Regions from separate parts of the Homo sapiens genome. Here regions 2, 3 and 4 are each linked to region 1. Evidence: promoter capture Hi-C in 16 types of primary human blood cells and fetal thymus (Javierre and others, 2016). All regions are on one chromosome and are shown on one strand. The core of a region is centred on a gene start or on the middle of the fragment in contact, and the rest is flanking DNA. Distances in the headings are between cores, read along the strand shown. Region 1 holds the start of C21orf91-OT1 (C21orf91 overlapping transcript 1). Region 2 overlaps LINC03147 (long intergenic non-protein coding RNA 3147). Region 3 has its middle 86 kb from the start of C21orf91-OT1. Region 4 overlaps LINC03147 (long intergenic non-protein coding RNA 3147).

Region 1 (3,906 bases), core at 1,407-3,906:
TTGGGGGTTTTATCTCTTACTAATTCTCACCACAAATTTCCTCAAATAGTTACTCCCACCAACGTAAAAGTTAAAAATACAATCATACACTGAAACGGCATCAATTATCTTTGCCTTACATCTGAACAAAAAGTATTAACTTTTTTATAGCGTATTACACTTCTTAATAAGCACTTAGTAACAACATTTGTCAGTAAATGAACTGGCATACATCAGAAAAAGTTGACAATAGAAGAATTTTACATGGTACCATTTCAAATTTTCATGTACAAGTAACCCACTTTATGGTCACTAACCTGAACCTCCTAATAAGCTACACAAATAATTTACTCTTTAAAAATTCCTACTTTAGAGCATTTACATTTTATAATTTAATAATGAAAGCAGATTCTTCCAAAACAAAACAAAACCCAAACTGGGAAACATTAAAACACAAATAGATCTAAAAGCTTACTTTAAAAAAACTACAAAAATGGACTAACAAGCCTTACCAGTGTAAACACTAAGGTAAAAAATATATAAACAACATAAAGAAAACACAAAACCATTTTCAGTCATAAATATAGTAAAATGAAAAACCAAATCTCAAGATGCCTGTCAAGATATATTTGACTATATATTTTGACTATATTTCTGAAATCACTAACATGAACTTGACATTGAAAAAATAATCCTTAAATGTATATAAAAATGGGCACTTTGTGGTAAAATGAACATGTGTTTTGAAAAACTAAGAATGTGTCTTTGCTCCACCATTGTGCATAGTCAACGACACAACAAAACACTATTCTGCTGCCTGAATCATCTATTACTGGAGTCTCAAGTGCATGCCTTTTAAAAAAGACTAATTTAGATATTAATATGAGGATCAAAGGATAAGATGATAATCTCAAAGTAAAACATAATTGATTTTTAGCTTCATTATAAGGCTGAACTTTAAAGAGAACAACCTGTGTGGTCAAAAACACTTTTCTAATTTTTAAAACTCAATTTAACGTGTCAAATTATAAAACTGAACGTGAAAAAGATTTGTCTTATCTCACTCCCCTTAATCATATAAGCTCTGAAAATTTAGTAATGGATGACTGGCAGTCTGTTTTGCCACTTTTTAAACAGTAGTACATGAGATATGCTTCAAAACATTCTCAAAAATTACTAACAACTGTAGAGAATAGCCAAGTGTGGAAAACAATATTTGTGATATTTCATGTTCTCTTGTTAGAACTCAACTCTGTACCTGATACTTATATTTGCATACACAGTAATTGCATATTTGATTAAGAAAACTAACATAGGACTAAATTATAAGTTTACCAAACATTTGGATAAACTGCTGTGCAAAATACTTCAACAAAAAGTTTTTTTTACTAGGAACTCATCCAAATAAAGTAGTGTGAGTACCAGCACCACAAAGTTTTTTTTAAGAGCACCTCTCCTTTTTAGAGCTTAAGTAGAAATATCTAAATGGAATAAATCAGAGTCCCACTTAAGACCTTAGCACATGCACACGTTCATCCACTTGTTCCGTACTCATTAGCAAAGCTATGTATATTTGTCAGAAAACTCCTTTCTTTGGATAACACTGTTGTATTCAGGACTGCAACTTATGGCTCATATTCTGGAAATATGCTACTATTGATATCAAATGCAACATATCCCCAACTTTTATGACTGTCCCTAACTCATCTAAACACAAACCCAAATGTGTGCAAACACACTGGCTGGTAACAATCTTACTGAATTACGCCAAAAAAGAGTAAAGTCAAATTTGAAAATGTGGGAACAATTAAGCACTAAGATATTAATCAGGAAATGTATTTACCCAGCTTGTAAGTTTGAATATTTTGATATTGCACACATTTAATTTAAAGCTCATCAAAACTAAGGCAATGCATCCATACTCCCTGGATTTTAAATTCATTTTGCATGACTTAAAGAATTGAGAGAAATCGAAAGCATCTTTCAAAAATTCCCTCCAAAAAGTAATGTTATACTTCAAAGAAAAACAAAATCAACAGATATCAATTAATACCCTCAGGCCAATTTAACACGTCAGCATTACAAAAAGTTGTTTTCAATTAAACTGAAGTGTTTCTTTGCTTAAATACTTTCTTGTGTTCAACAACAAAATCTGACCCAAGCCAGGGTAGGCTGCCAAATTTAAGGCAAATGTCATTTATATCTTTATGCATGAAGCTGCCACGTTACTGGGCTTTTCAGCAGATACTTTCAAGCAAGGATCTACCTCATAAGTACATTCTAAACATGAGTTAAAAACAGAATTTAGAGCCCATTTTAATTCTGCATTGGTTATAGCCTTTACTGTAATACATTATTAAAATTTATCTAGCTGTTTGGCACAATCTGTTAGATAAAAACTCTTTGGAAGCATCATAGGCAACTTACGAGAACATTCTCTTAATACATAGGTTTATTTTTTTTTAATTAGGAGTTTTGCTTTTCTTCTGTAGAACAATCCTATATTTCTCTATAGAGTCTAAAGTTTAGAAAAATACCTCACAATGCTTTCTTTGAGCACTAAGTTCAATGATGGTGATAATACAATTTGGACAGTTTAAGTATTCTTGAAACTTTACCCAAAGTGGCACACAAAATAATCTTACTTTTTTTTTTCAAAGACAGAACAATTTCACAGCACACTCAATTTGAAGATAGACATTATATTTGAATTGGAAGTGAGGCTTGACTTACTCTGTCCAAATTCTAATGCATCACAGTCACTGGTGTGAAGCTAATAATGAAAGAAGCAAGAGGAGGCTTTCATTTCTATGGAGACAAATTGACATAGAAGCCAGATTAGTCTTTTCTTCCTGAACTAAGAACTGCTTTTGTTAGAAAACAAAATAATGTATTGTATTTACCTGAATACTGCTTTAAAAAGTTATTAATTCTTCTTTTACAAGAGGTATTAGAAATTAAAACAACTCAGATTTCTAATCCAAAATATATTTATCTTTGGAAAGCAAGGTAACCGTTGTGAAAACATTGTATTAAGAGAATAAAATGCAGTGACCTGAAATATGGGTGAACATATTCACACATGATAATGTAAATAAATATACAGAACCACTCAAATACACATTTATAAAGAGAATGGCAAAGTACCTAAAATAGCATTTTCACATATAAAATTTTTATATTAAAATATTGCTCATAATAAATAAGAGGTGATATGAATTCCATTTCCCTCTTAAAAATTATCTCTAGTAGTTTACACTAAGGAGTTAATCTGTTGTTTTGACAGGTGAATTAAAATGTTTAATAAAATGACACTGTAACAGTATATTTAAGTAGTCACATGTGATAAAATTTGTTTAGTAATTCTGGGAAAAAAGAGTCCCCAAATGAGCCAAAATGATTAGCCCTAGAAGACTAGAGTATAATGATCTGCTTTATTTGACAAAGATGTTAAATACTGCCTTATGTTTGGCAAATTTAATGACCATAAAAAAACGGACCACAACTTTCTTCAAACTTCTTCAAAGTTTGCATGTCTGGGAGACCAATAAAGGGCAGGGCATACGAAGTAAGTCTGTTTAGGTCAGTTGTTTATGGGTAGGTGCGACTTCATTCCTGTTCGCCCTACTTGCAGACATGGTAACTTAGAACAGTTCTTCAGAAGCTGTTCGATGGCAACGTGGCGGACATGGAGCTGTGAGGCCAAAGAATCTTTTTCTTGCACTTGGTGAGTTAACTCTTCAAAAACTTCTGTAAAAGATTTAAAAACTTTCATTTTTAGTATGCAGAAAGCCGGTGCTATGATTTATATTTCAAGAACTCTAACTGAAATCTATGCATTGGGCAAAGTGTCACAATGAAACTGATTTGATACCAAGGAAACAGTTCTGTTCTCTACAAAGCATATCAGTTCTGATCATCCTAGGC
Region 2 (4,018 bases), core at 280-2,779, 70 kb after region 1:
TGGAAAATTAGAAACCAACATTGAAGTTAGACACGGTCAGAAGTCCTTCATCAGCAAGTGGAAGTGGATTCCACTAATATCCAGGATTAGGTCCACGTCAATTGTGAAGGCAGAAATAAGTTGCATAAATAACTTTATGAACACCCACCTTGCCTCCTCCTGCTGCCACTGTGCTCTTGTGGGGGAATTTCTTCATATCAGTTGACTGAAGAGGAAAACATTTGATTCTTTTAAAAGGATGGCTCTGCATATTTGTGTACCAACCAGAAATAGATTGCTGAGGCATTACTTTCACCCTCAGGAGTGGTCCTGAAGGACAGTCAAAATGGAAATTCTCCCAGTGAAAAGAAATGTAAACAATTTATCTTATTGTCCACTTTGTCAGTTAGTAGAAAGCCCCAGGTAGGTATCTGTACTGATTGATGGGCAGTGGTTAATGGTATAATCAGATTGTCAGGGAACTAAAAGAAGCAGAATTGTAAGATTGATCACAAAGTGTTTGGGGAAGACACTTACGTATGGACCCCTCTGAATGGGGTTTCTAAGTGTGACTAAATATAGCCTATGCAACTGACCAACAAAAGGCTACAGTGAATGAGGGTTTTAATTATCAGGTGGACAAGATGACTCACTATTTATGTCAGTCGGCTTTTTTCTGATTTCCTTAGTACTTGATTAAAGTGGATATGGTGACAGACATTAACACATGGACTTTTTCTAAAAAATCTGACCTTGTGTACTTTCCAGAAACAGCAATTAACCCTGAGCTTGTAATACAATACCATGCCCTAGGGAGGGCAGCGAGACTTCTATCAAGGAGGAGGCTATGACACTTTAGATTTTAATTTGCCTTTCTTCCTAATTTTGCTTCAGTACCACTATACATGGAATGACTATTTTATACACAGTTATGATATTCCACCCAGCCTTTCTCTGATCAAGGAAGTCTATTTTACAGTGAAAAAAAAAGTGAGGCAAAGGGTGATTGACAAGTCTAAGATACCCAAGGCTCAGAAACAGCTATGGCCGATCGGAGTCTCACATATAGGAGAGCTTAGACACAACACCTTGTGACTAGAGGACTGTCTCGTAATATCCTTTTAGCCAAGGATCAGTATACAGTATTATATCTCCCACAAACTGAATACATGCATTTGGAGACAATAGGCTGGAAGTGAGAGTAGAGTTTCTCCCTAAATAGGAGAAAGTGAAATCATTTAATAATCTATTTACAAATGTTTTACCTCCCATCCTCACTCTTTCAGACTTTGAAGATTTTAGTATTGAAGAGAAGAATGTTTCCTTCTGGGATATTTGGCAAATGATTCCTTTAAATTTGAAGCTTAGACTATAGCTTACCCATTCAGAGTTCTTCATGCCACTGAGTAAATGAGCAAAAGGAAGTTATGTTGTTAACTAATTAATCCTGTCAAGGGTTTTACTACACAGTGGGCACAGAGAGAGGCATGATAGTGCTAAAATAATAATCTGAATTTCCTCCTAGTACAGCCATGCCCAATAGTAAAATTTAACAAAAGCTAAAACATCACTTTATAAGCAGAATAATCTATGGCTCAGGTATTATACTTTAGGACTAAGATTCTGAGTCACCTATTGGTTGAAGGGCCACGACTATCTGGAGTGCTGGTTAAAGACAAAGGCACATGGAATAAGTAATGGAGAAGGGCAGTCATAAGTACCTTATTTTATCAACTGAAAGCTTTGGAGTTTATCAAAGCATCCAAGCCTCCCTTTCTTTGTGTGTGTGTGTGTGTGTGTGTGTGTGTGTGTGTGTGTGTTTTAAATTTTTTTATTTTTTATTTATTAATTTATTGTTTTTAGAGATCGTGGGTCACTGCATCCTCCACCTCCTAGGCTCAAGCGATCCTCCACCTCAGCCTCCTGAGTTCCTGGGACTACAGGCACTTGCCAACATGCCTGGCTAATTCTTGTTTTCTTTTTTTAATAGAGACTAGGTTTTGCCATATGGTCTAGTCTGGTCTCCAGCTCCTGGGCTCAAGGGATCCTCCCACCTTGGCCTCCCAAAATGTTGGGATTATAGGGGTGAGCCAGTGTGCCTAGCCACTTCATGAGTCTTTAACTTTTATTCCCCAGCTCTTATCACTCTATAGCAAGCTGTGCTCATCTTCTGAACTTACAACTAGAATTAGCAAATGCCCTAAGAGGAAAAGTCATCCTGACTGTCGGGTTCACCTCTCAGCAATATCCTCCTTTCTTGGATTTTGGCCCATCAAGAGCTCTCAATCTTGGTAGCTTTATGACACATTCAAACATTTTTTTTTTAAATCCTTTTTTTTTTTTTTTTAGTTTTCTCAGTAAGATGGTTAGTCTAAAACAATCTAGTCTGCATTTAGCAAACTCATAAAACCATATTTCTTTTTCTTCATAGCACTTGTCTCAGTTTGCAATTAGAAACTCATTTCTGTGATTATTTGCTAAATATCTGTCTCCCCCACAACACATAATTAGAAACTGTACCCATTTTTGCTCACTGGATTATCTATGGCCTAGCACAGTGCTAGGCACATAGTAGATACTTAATATTTACTGAGCCAATTAATGAATGAACCTTGGGCAAGTTGCTTATTATTAACAATAGCAAGCACCTGTTAAGTGCAAAACACTAGGGTCAAGTTATGGCACTTAGAGTCTAAAGACTTTTGCTCTTATATCCTACCATTTATCCTTATCAGTGAAACAACACAAAATGTTTTGCCTTCAGGATCAAGGCTTTTTCAGATATAGATTTTAAATGGCTCAGAAAGGAATGAATATTTGAAGAAAGAATTGTACATAGATTTAACTGGAAGGGAGGAGCCCAAGGAATTTAACACAGAAATGGTTAGTGGCACAGACCCTAAATCACAGTCACTCAGAGAATGGGCACTGATGATGTGAAAAAGTTAGGGTTGGCCAGGTGCGGTGGTTCACGCCTGTAATCCCAGCACTTTGAGAAGCCAAAGTGGGTGGATCGCTTGAGTTTAGGGGTTCAAGACCAGCCTGGGTAACATGGCAAAAACCTCTTCTCTACTAAAAATACAAAAAATTAGCCAGGTGTAGTGGCACACACCTGAAGTCCTAGCTACTTGGGTGGCTGAGGTGGGAGAATTGATTGAGCCTGGGGAAGTAAAGGCTGCACAAGTGCGCCATGATTGTACCACTGCACTCCAGCTTGGATTAGGGGACTGAGACCCTGTGTCCAAAAAAAGAAAAAGTTAGCGTTAAGTGCCTGGAAAAAGGCTACATGGTGTCAGCGTCTAAGTATCAACTGAATAGAGTTTAAACTGAGTCAATACAGTGGGAAAATGGCCTGTGATGGCCCTAAAGAGGGGATAAGGTGGCCAGGTGTGGTGGCTCATGCCTGTAATCCTAGCACTTTGGGAGGCCGAGGCGGGCGGATTGCCTGAGCTCAGGAGTTCAAGACCAGCCTAGGCAATACAGTGAAACCCTGTCTCTACTAAAATACAAAGAAAAAATCAGCCAATTGTGGCGGCATGCACCTGTAGTCCCAGCTACTCTGGAGGCTGAGACAGAAGAATTGCTTGAACCTGGAAGGCGGAGGTTGCAGTGAGCCGAGATTGTGCCACTGCACTCCAGCCTGGGCAACAGAGTGAGACTCCATCTCAAAAAAAAAAAAAAAAAAAAAAGAGGGGATAAGGTAAACAAGTCAATAGTTAGAAACACAAAATACGAAAACTGTTAAGTCACAGACCTGAAATCCTGTGTATTCTTGAAATTTGCGCATGTGTATTTTGTTTTTTATCATTTTATTTCATACTTTATAGACAGACTAACTTAATAATTTATGTTTGCTGTCTTCATAAGTATTTATATCTGTGCATACATATAGATACATGTAATTTAGAGTATATATAGGATGTTTTATTAATGCTTTCTTGGTTGTAAATCCTTGAAAGAATGCTAATTACTCTGTCTTTATTTCTTAATTAGGCACTATGCAGCCTCCATAATAACTACTAGCTGTGAACGAGAGCAC
Region 3 (3,570 bases), core at 510-3,009, 86 kb before region 1:
CAATTTAGAGAGCCGAGTGAAATACAGGGGTAGAGGAAGCAGCAGGAAAAGTCCTGTGGGCTTGTTGGGTTCCCTAGCAAGCCATTTCTGCCCTGCCTCACAGGGGCCCTTGGGAAGAGTGGCCAGAGGCACTGGGAAAAGGCCACAGGGAGAAGAAAATCTCCAGCTGAAATTTGCTAACAATATGAACTGATTGAGAAGCCCCCTGGCCAGAACTCAGGGGAGGACATGAATCCAGTGTGCGGACTCCACAGGCAGGTGAAGAATAAAAGCCCTAATTGCTTTCACAGCTGGAAAGTGGGTAGCCTGGGGCAAGTTCTCAGTCCTGTTCACCCACTGCCTGGAAACACACTTGGTGCTGTTACTGGGGGCACGGTGGGAGTGAGACTGGCCCTTTGGGTTGTGTGGGAGCTGGGTGAGGCCTATGACTGCTGGCTTTTCCCCACTTCCCTGACAAGTTGCATGACCCAGTAGAGGCAGCCATTATCCTCCTAGGAACATAACTGTTGATCTGGGAATCTCAACCTCATCCCCCACAGCAGCTGCAGCAAGACCGCTCAAGGAGAGTCTGAGGTCAGACACGCCTGCCACTGCCTCTACCTGATGGTCCTTCCCTACCTACCCTGGTAACTGAAGACAAAGGGCATATACTCTTGGGAGTTCAAGGGGGTGGTGGTGCCCCCCACCACCTGTTCCTCCCCATTCTACTACCGCTGATGCTCTTGAAATCACCACCTTCCGCAGGAGGACAACCAACCCAAAAATAGTGCATTAAGCAACCAAAGCCAAGGACCCTCACAGAGCCCATTTTACTCCCCCACCACCTCCACCAGAGCAGATGCTGGTATCAATGGCAGAAAGACTCACAGATGGTTCACATCAGAGGATTCTGTGCAGACAACCTCCAGTACCAGCCCAGAGCCTGGTAGACTTGCTGGGTTGCTAGATCCAGAAGAGAGATAACAATCTTTACAGCTTGGCTCTCAGGAAGCCACATCCCTAGGAAAAGGGGGAGAGTACTACATCAAGGGAACACTCCATGGGACAAAACAATTTGAACAACAGCCTTTGGCCTTAGACCTCTGTGACAAATGAGAAGAAACCAGAAAACCAACTCTGGCAATATGACAAAACAATGTTCTTCACCACCCAAGAAAAAATCACACTAGCCCACCAGCAATGGATTCCAACCAAGAAGAAGTCCCTGATTTACCTGAAAAAGAATTCAGGAGGTTAGTTGTTAAGCTAATCAGGGAGGCAACAGAGAAAGGTGAAGCCCAATCTAAGGAAATAAAAAAAAAAGATACAAGAAGTGATGGGAGAAATACTCAATGAAATAGATAGCATAAATAAAAAATCAAAATTTCAGGAAACAATAGACACACTTATAGAAATGCTAAATGTTCTGGAAAGTCTCAGCAATAGAATTCAACAAGCAGAAGAAAGAACTTCAGAGCTTGAAGACAAGTTCTTTGAATTAACCAAATCCAACAAAGACAAAGAAGAAAGAATAAGAAAAATTGAACAAAGCCTCCATGAGGTCTGGGTTCACGTTAAACTACCAACCCTAAGAATAATTGGCATTCCTGAGGAAGAAGAGGAACCTAGAAGTTTGGAAAACATATTTGGGAGAAAAATTGAGGAAAACTTCCCTAGCCTTGCTAGAGACCTAGGCATCCAAATACAAGAAGCACAAAGAACACCTGGGAAATTCATTGCACAAAGATCATCACCTAGACACATTGTCATCAGATTACCTAAAGTTAAGATGAAGGAAAGAATCTTAAGAACTGTGAGTCAAAAGCGCCAGGAAACCTATAAAGGAAAACCTATCAGATTAACAGCAGATTTCTCAGCAGAAATCCTACAAGCTAGAAGACATTGGGGACCTATCTTCAGCCTCCTCAAACAAAACAATTATCAGCCAAGAATTTGTATCCAGTGAAACTAATCTTCATAAATGAAGGAAAAATGGTATTTTTTAGACAAACAAATGCTGAAAGAATTCGCCACTACCAAGCCAGCACTACAAGAACAGCTAAAAGGAGCTCTAAATCTTGAAACAAATCCTGGAAACACATGAAAACAGAACCCCTTTAGAGCATAAATCTCATAGGACCTATAAAACAAAAAGGCAATATAAAAAAAAAACCCTCAAAAAACAAAAAAACCAAGGTATACAGGGAACAAATAGTATGATGAATGAAATGGTAACTCCCATCTCAATACTAATGTTGAATGTAAATGGCCTAAATGCTCCCCTTAAAAGATACAGAATTGCAGAATGGATAAGAACTCACCAACCATCTGCTGCCTTCAAGAGACTCACCTAACACATAAGGACTCACATAAACTTAAAGGGATGGAAAAAGACATTCCATGCAAATGGACACCAAAAGTGAGCAAGAGTAGCTATTCCTATATCAGACAGAACAAACTTTAAAGCAACAGCAGTTAAAAAAGACAAAGAGGGACATTATATAAATGATAAAATGTCTTGTTCAACAGGAAAATATTACAATCCTAAATATATATGCACCTAACACTGGAAGTCCCTAATTTATAAAACAATTACTAATAGACTTAAGAAATGAGATAGCAACACAATAATAGTTGGGGACTTCAGTACTCCACTGACAGCACTAGACAGGTCATCAAGACAGAAATTCAACAAAGAAACAATCAGTGTAAACTATACCCTGGAACAAATGGATTTGACAGATTTATACAGAACATTCTACCCAACAACCACAGAATATACATTTTATTCAACAGCACATGGAACTTTCTCCAAGATAGACCATATAATAGGCCATAAAATGAGTCTCAATAAATTTAAGAAAAACACTCTCTCAGACCATAGTGGAATAAAACTAGAAATCAACTCCAAAAGGAACCACCTTCAAAACCATGCAAATACATGGAAATTAAATAACCTGTACCTGAATGATCATTGGGTCAAAAATGAAATCTAGATGGACATTAGAAAATTCTTCGAGCTGAATGGCAAGAGTGACGCAAATTATCAAAACCCCTGGGATACAGCAAAGTGGTGCTAAGAGGAAACTTCATAGCCATAAATGCCTCCATCAAGAAGTCCGAAAGAATACAATCTAAGGTCACACCTCAAGGAACTAAAGAAACAAGAACAAACCAAACCCAAACCTAGCAGAAGAAAGGAAATAACCAAGATCAGAACAGAACTAAATGAAATTGAAACAATCAATACAAAATATAAATAAAACAAAAAGCTGGTTCTTTGAAAAGATAAATAAAATTGATAGACCATTAGCAAGCAAAGACTCTATTTTTATGTCCAACTTTTATTTTAAGTTCAGGGGTACATGTGCAGGATGTGCAAATTTGTTACATAGTTAAATATGTGCCATGGTGATTAGCTGCACAGATCATCCCATCACCTAGGTATTAGCCTAGTGTTCCATTATTGGAACACTAAGCATGTGGGAGTTATTTATATCCTACTGCTCAAGGTCATTGCCAAGGTCTGATTGATTGCAAAAATTCAAAAAATTTCAACCTCAGGCATAAATGGGTTAAGCCCAGTACCCT
Region 4 (3,611 bases), core at 1,095-3,594, 91 kb after region 1:
CTAAAGGTCCATTTACAAAAATAAGACCAGAACTTTGGGACCCTTAACCTTTGTAAGGCAAGGACTGTGCTTTATTTGGTTTTGTACACCCTCTGCCCCAGTGACTGGGCATGGAAAGCTATTTGTGTTTGTTGAGATGAATAAATAGATGCAGTTTCCATTGGGAAAATTACACAAGCAATAATGTTACCCCTCCAACAATTTCTGCAAAATAGTTACACTACAAGGTATCACATGCAAGGGGCCCTTCAGATCAGCAGATAATTGTGCCTTTGGAAAATGAAAATCAAAATCAACACTCCTGGTATAGCTTCCCCATCTCTATAGATTCTAGTACTTACTCTCTGCCTGCTGGTTTCTCAGGCATGAGAAAAGGCTTTTTGACTCCAAGTCATAACACTAAAATACTCATAGTTCTGGCTACTATTGGATAATAAAGTTGGCAGTGCTATTCAGGAATCATATCTGAGTGTGGTTTCTATGATGGGACCAATCAACTGTATATTTACTACACGTTTTGGAGCCCTCTGTAAAACAAATGCTTGTCCTGCAATTTCTCCTTATTACAGAATGTATTCTGAATAGGTAATTTGGGGTTTCCCCTTCAAATTCACTCCTCCTTACCCAAACACATTCGCTGAGTATGTGTTTGTGTTTGGGTATGTGTGTGTGTATGTGTGTTTATCTACTCTCTGAGTCATGTCTCATCCTAACTTTGCCTTATTAGCAAATCTGTTGTTTTCAGCAGAATGGGTTAACAGACTCGTAGCCCTCTGCAGATCCGCAAAGGAGACAGTCTCTCTTAGATGTTACCTCCTAAGTTCTCTGGCCTGTCCCTGGTGTGTGCTCACTGACTGTTCTGAGGTTATTCCTCAGCCTATCTGCAATGGAATTCCTTCAACACAAGCAGTGATGAGAGCTGGCAGCCTTAACCTGTGCACAGTATCTTTGCCATACATTTTGATAAGAAGCATGTCTCCTTGGAGATCTTGATAAGGTAAATATTATCTTGAACTCATGGCCTGAGTATAGCTGCCTGATTATTAGGGATTGCAGGCATGAGCCACTGTGCCCAGCTATGAGGTAAATATTATCAAGAACACTTCTTCACTTAGAAATATTAAAAATTATTAGGTGTCTGCATGTTCTCATAAGTGGGAGTTGAACAATGAGAACACATGGACACCGGGAGAAGAGCATCACACACGGGGGGCCTGTTAGGGGGTCAGGAGCTAGGGGAGGGATAGCATTAGGGGAAATACCTAATGTAGATGACGGGTTGATGGGTGCAACAAACCACCATGGCATGTGTAGACCTGTATAACAAACCTGCACATTCTGCACATGTATCCCAGAACTTAAAGTATAATAAAAAAAAAATTATTAGGTGTCAACGATATACCAGGCCCCATGTAAGGTACTGGTGGTGTGTTACATACAGATACAGGAGCCAGTCATTTCTGTTTGTCTTTTTTTTTTTTTTTTCAGAGATGGAGTCTCGCTTTGTTGCCCAGGCTGGAGTGCAGTGGCACAATCTGGGCTCACTGCCAGCTCTACCTACCTGATTCATGCCATTCTCCTGCCTCAGCCTCCTGAGTAACTGGGACTACAGGTGCCTGCCACTATGCCTGGCTAATTTTTTTGTATTTTTAGTAGAGACAGGGTTTCACCATGTTAGCCAGGATGGTCTCGATCTCCTGACCTTGTGATCTGCCCGCCTTGGCCTCCCATAGCGCTGGGATTACAGGCGTGAGCCACCGCGCCTGGCCTCTGTTTGTCTTTTATAATCTTTCCATCTTCTCACCTATCCTCCCTCACCTTTCTGAATGGGATTGCAATGATTTATGACAAGCACACACAACAAACAAATGGAGACTGAGAAACTCAGTCATGACCAAAGGAGGCATTAATAAGAGTACGGAGTCAAGAAAAAACTTTTGGCCCAGCGTGGTGGCTCACACCTGTAATTCCAGCACTTTGGGAGGCCAAGGTGGGTGGATCACTTGAGCTCAGGAGTTCAAGACCAGCCTGGGCACTATGGAGAAACCCTGTCACTACAAAAATACAAAAATTAGCCAGATGTGGTGGTGCACACCTGTAGTCCCAGCTACTCGGGAGGCTAAGGTGGGGTGATTGCTTGAGTCCAACAGGTGAGGCTTCAGTGAGTCAAGATCGCTCCACTGCACTCCGGCTTGAGTGACAGAGGGAGATCTTTCTCAAAAAAAAAAAAAAAAAAAAAGCAAATAGCAAGAAAGAAAGAAAAAATCTTTCAGACCGTAAAGGCCTATGTGGTTATTATACTTGTGCTGACATTAGGCTTTGGGTTTCCTGGCAATCAAAGCAAGCAGAAAGACCTATTGCTCTTTTTCAGAAAGGAAAGAGGATTTCAGTTCCTCAGGGAAGGCAAAACTGTTTGTTTTTAGCACTAAGTTCTGAAAAGCATTTTCAATGTGGTGCTTTATATAAGGGGCACTGAACAAGATAATAGACAACATGCTTGACTTCTTCCAAATAGCAAGCACATGAATGGAATCTATATGACGACTTCTTGTGTTGTCTTTAGATAATAGTGATATAACCTTAAAATGCATCTCAATGGATGCGATTATGTGGGGACTTGGCTCTGACGAAACGAAGCTGCCTAGACAAGATGAATTTTATCCATAGATAAAATTCCAAGAACCAGTCCAAGAAAAAGAGTTGAACAAATCCAGTTTTTCCTTGGGAAACGTTCATCTTCACTATCAGCAGTTTCTTAGCCATTTGAGTGCCCCTTTCTGGCTCCAATACAGTTGGCGGTCTTTTGTTTAATTTTGGCATCTTGCTCTCAGCTAGCTGTTATTATAATTCTCATAGCAGTCATAAATGCCATTGGAGCCCTAAGAGTTAAGAGTTTTGGACTTGCTGAGTTTTGAAAAGTTTAAAATTCCTTTAAAAAATAATCGTTGAACTCTTCAGAGTTTTTTATATGCTAATATATATTGTGACTCTGTAAGAGAGAAAAATAATGTTCAGTATTTCTTCATCATATTTGATCATGGAACCCCTTAGTCATGTATCAGATACCTGTTGGGAAATGCTGTTGAAAGTTATTCTTTGTTAATGACTTTTAATGTAGACATTACAAGATCCCTTGCAGGGATATTGGCACTTTAGTATAGGATTAATGATGGTCAACAAATGTTTGAAATTGAAAGCTATGAATTTTTAGTAAAGCATCCTTGGTGCCCTGGCAAGTAGATGAAATATATTTGGGCAGGTGGAACTTTCTAGAATCCTCATGTCATACCACGTATTTATAAGACCAGCCCTCACAATCTTGGTCATGGCCTAAAAGTCTTTCTTCATCTATAAAATCAAGATTGTATTCTTCAGCTTAATCTTTGAATATCAACTGAATAAAATAATCAAAATACTGTTGAGACATTTGAAATGTAATCATTTTAAACTACCACTTAAAAAGAATAGAGCATAATAATAATCTTTGGGCAAAATTTATAAAGAATACGCTAGAGAATGGCTTTCTTTTTTTTTTTTTGAGACGGAGTCTCGCTCTGTCGCCCAGGCTGGAGTGCAGTGGCGTGATCTCGGCTCACTGCAACCTCCGCCTC

Evidence for each region. The method cuts DNA at HindIII sites, captures the fragments that hold promoters and counts their contacts. A CHiCAGO score of 5 or more calls a contact.
Region 2: a fragment that was not itself captured here is called in contact with the fragment with the promoter of C21orf91-OT1 in region 1 in 3 of 17 cell types (total CD4 T cells, activated CD4 T cells and total B cells); the score reaches 6.7 in total CD4 T cells.
Region 3: a contact is called between a fragment that was not itself captured here and the fragment with the promoter of C21orf91-OT1 in region 1, in 8 of 17 cell types (activated CD4 T cells, naive CD8 T cells, total CD4 T cells and 5 more). The highest score is 15.3, in activated CD4 T cells.
Region 4: a fragment that was not itself captured here is called in contact with the fragment with the promoter of C21orf91-OT1 in region 1 in 8 of 17 cell types (activated CD4 T cells, naive CD8 T cells, total CD4 T cells and 5 more); the score reaches 10.6 in activated CD4 T cells.

What each region holds. Positions count from the first base shown.
Region 1 is chr21:17,789,853-17,793,758 of GRCh38, forward strand. C21orf91-OT1 (C21orf91 overlapping transcript 1) reads right to left here and starts at 2,657. Exons shown (of 4, transcript NR_038871.1): 1 at 2,625-2,657. C21orf91 (chromosome 21 open reading frame 91) reads right to left here. Exons shown (of 5, transcript NM_001100420.2): 5 at 1-3,729. The coding sequence ends at 3,563. All of the region lies in intron 2 of LOC124900465 (a long non-coding RNA gene), which reads left to right. The HindIII fragment of the contact is 3,892 bases long and covers 448-3,906 here.
Region 2 is chr21:17,861,314-17,865,331 of GRCh38, forward strand. The region is part of intron 1 of LINC03147 (long intergenic non-protein coding RNA 3147); the gene reads right to left. The region is part of intron 2 of LOC124900465 (a long non-coding RNA gene); the gene reads left to right. Among named protein-coding and RNA genes, the nearest start is that of LINC03147, 22 kb to the right of the region's middle. The HindIII fragment of the contact is 378 bases long and covers 1,341-1,718 here.
Region 3 is chr21:17,704,546-17,708,115 of GRCh38, forward strand. No RefSeq gene overlaps it. Among named protein-coding and RNA genes, the nearest start is that of C21orf91-OT1, 86 kb to the right of the region's middle. The HindIII fragment of the contact is 8,139 bases long and covers 1-3,570 here.
Region 4 is chr21:17,880,716-17,884,326 of GRCh38, forward strand. The region is part of intron 1 of LINC03147 (long intergenic non-protein coding RNA 3147); the gene reads right to left. All of the region lies in intron 2 of LOC124900465 (a long non-coding RNA gene), which reads left to right. Among named protein-coding and RNA genes, the nearest start is that of LINC03147, 3.1 kb to the right of the region's middle. The HindIII fragment of the contact is 6,627 bases long and covers 1-3,611 here.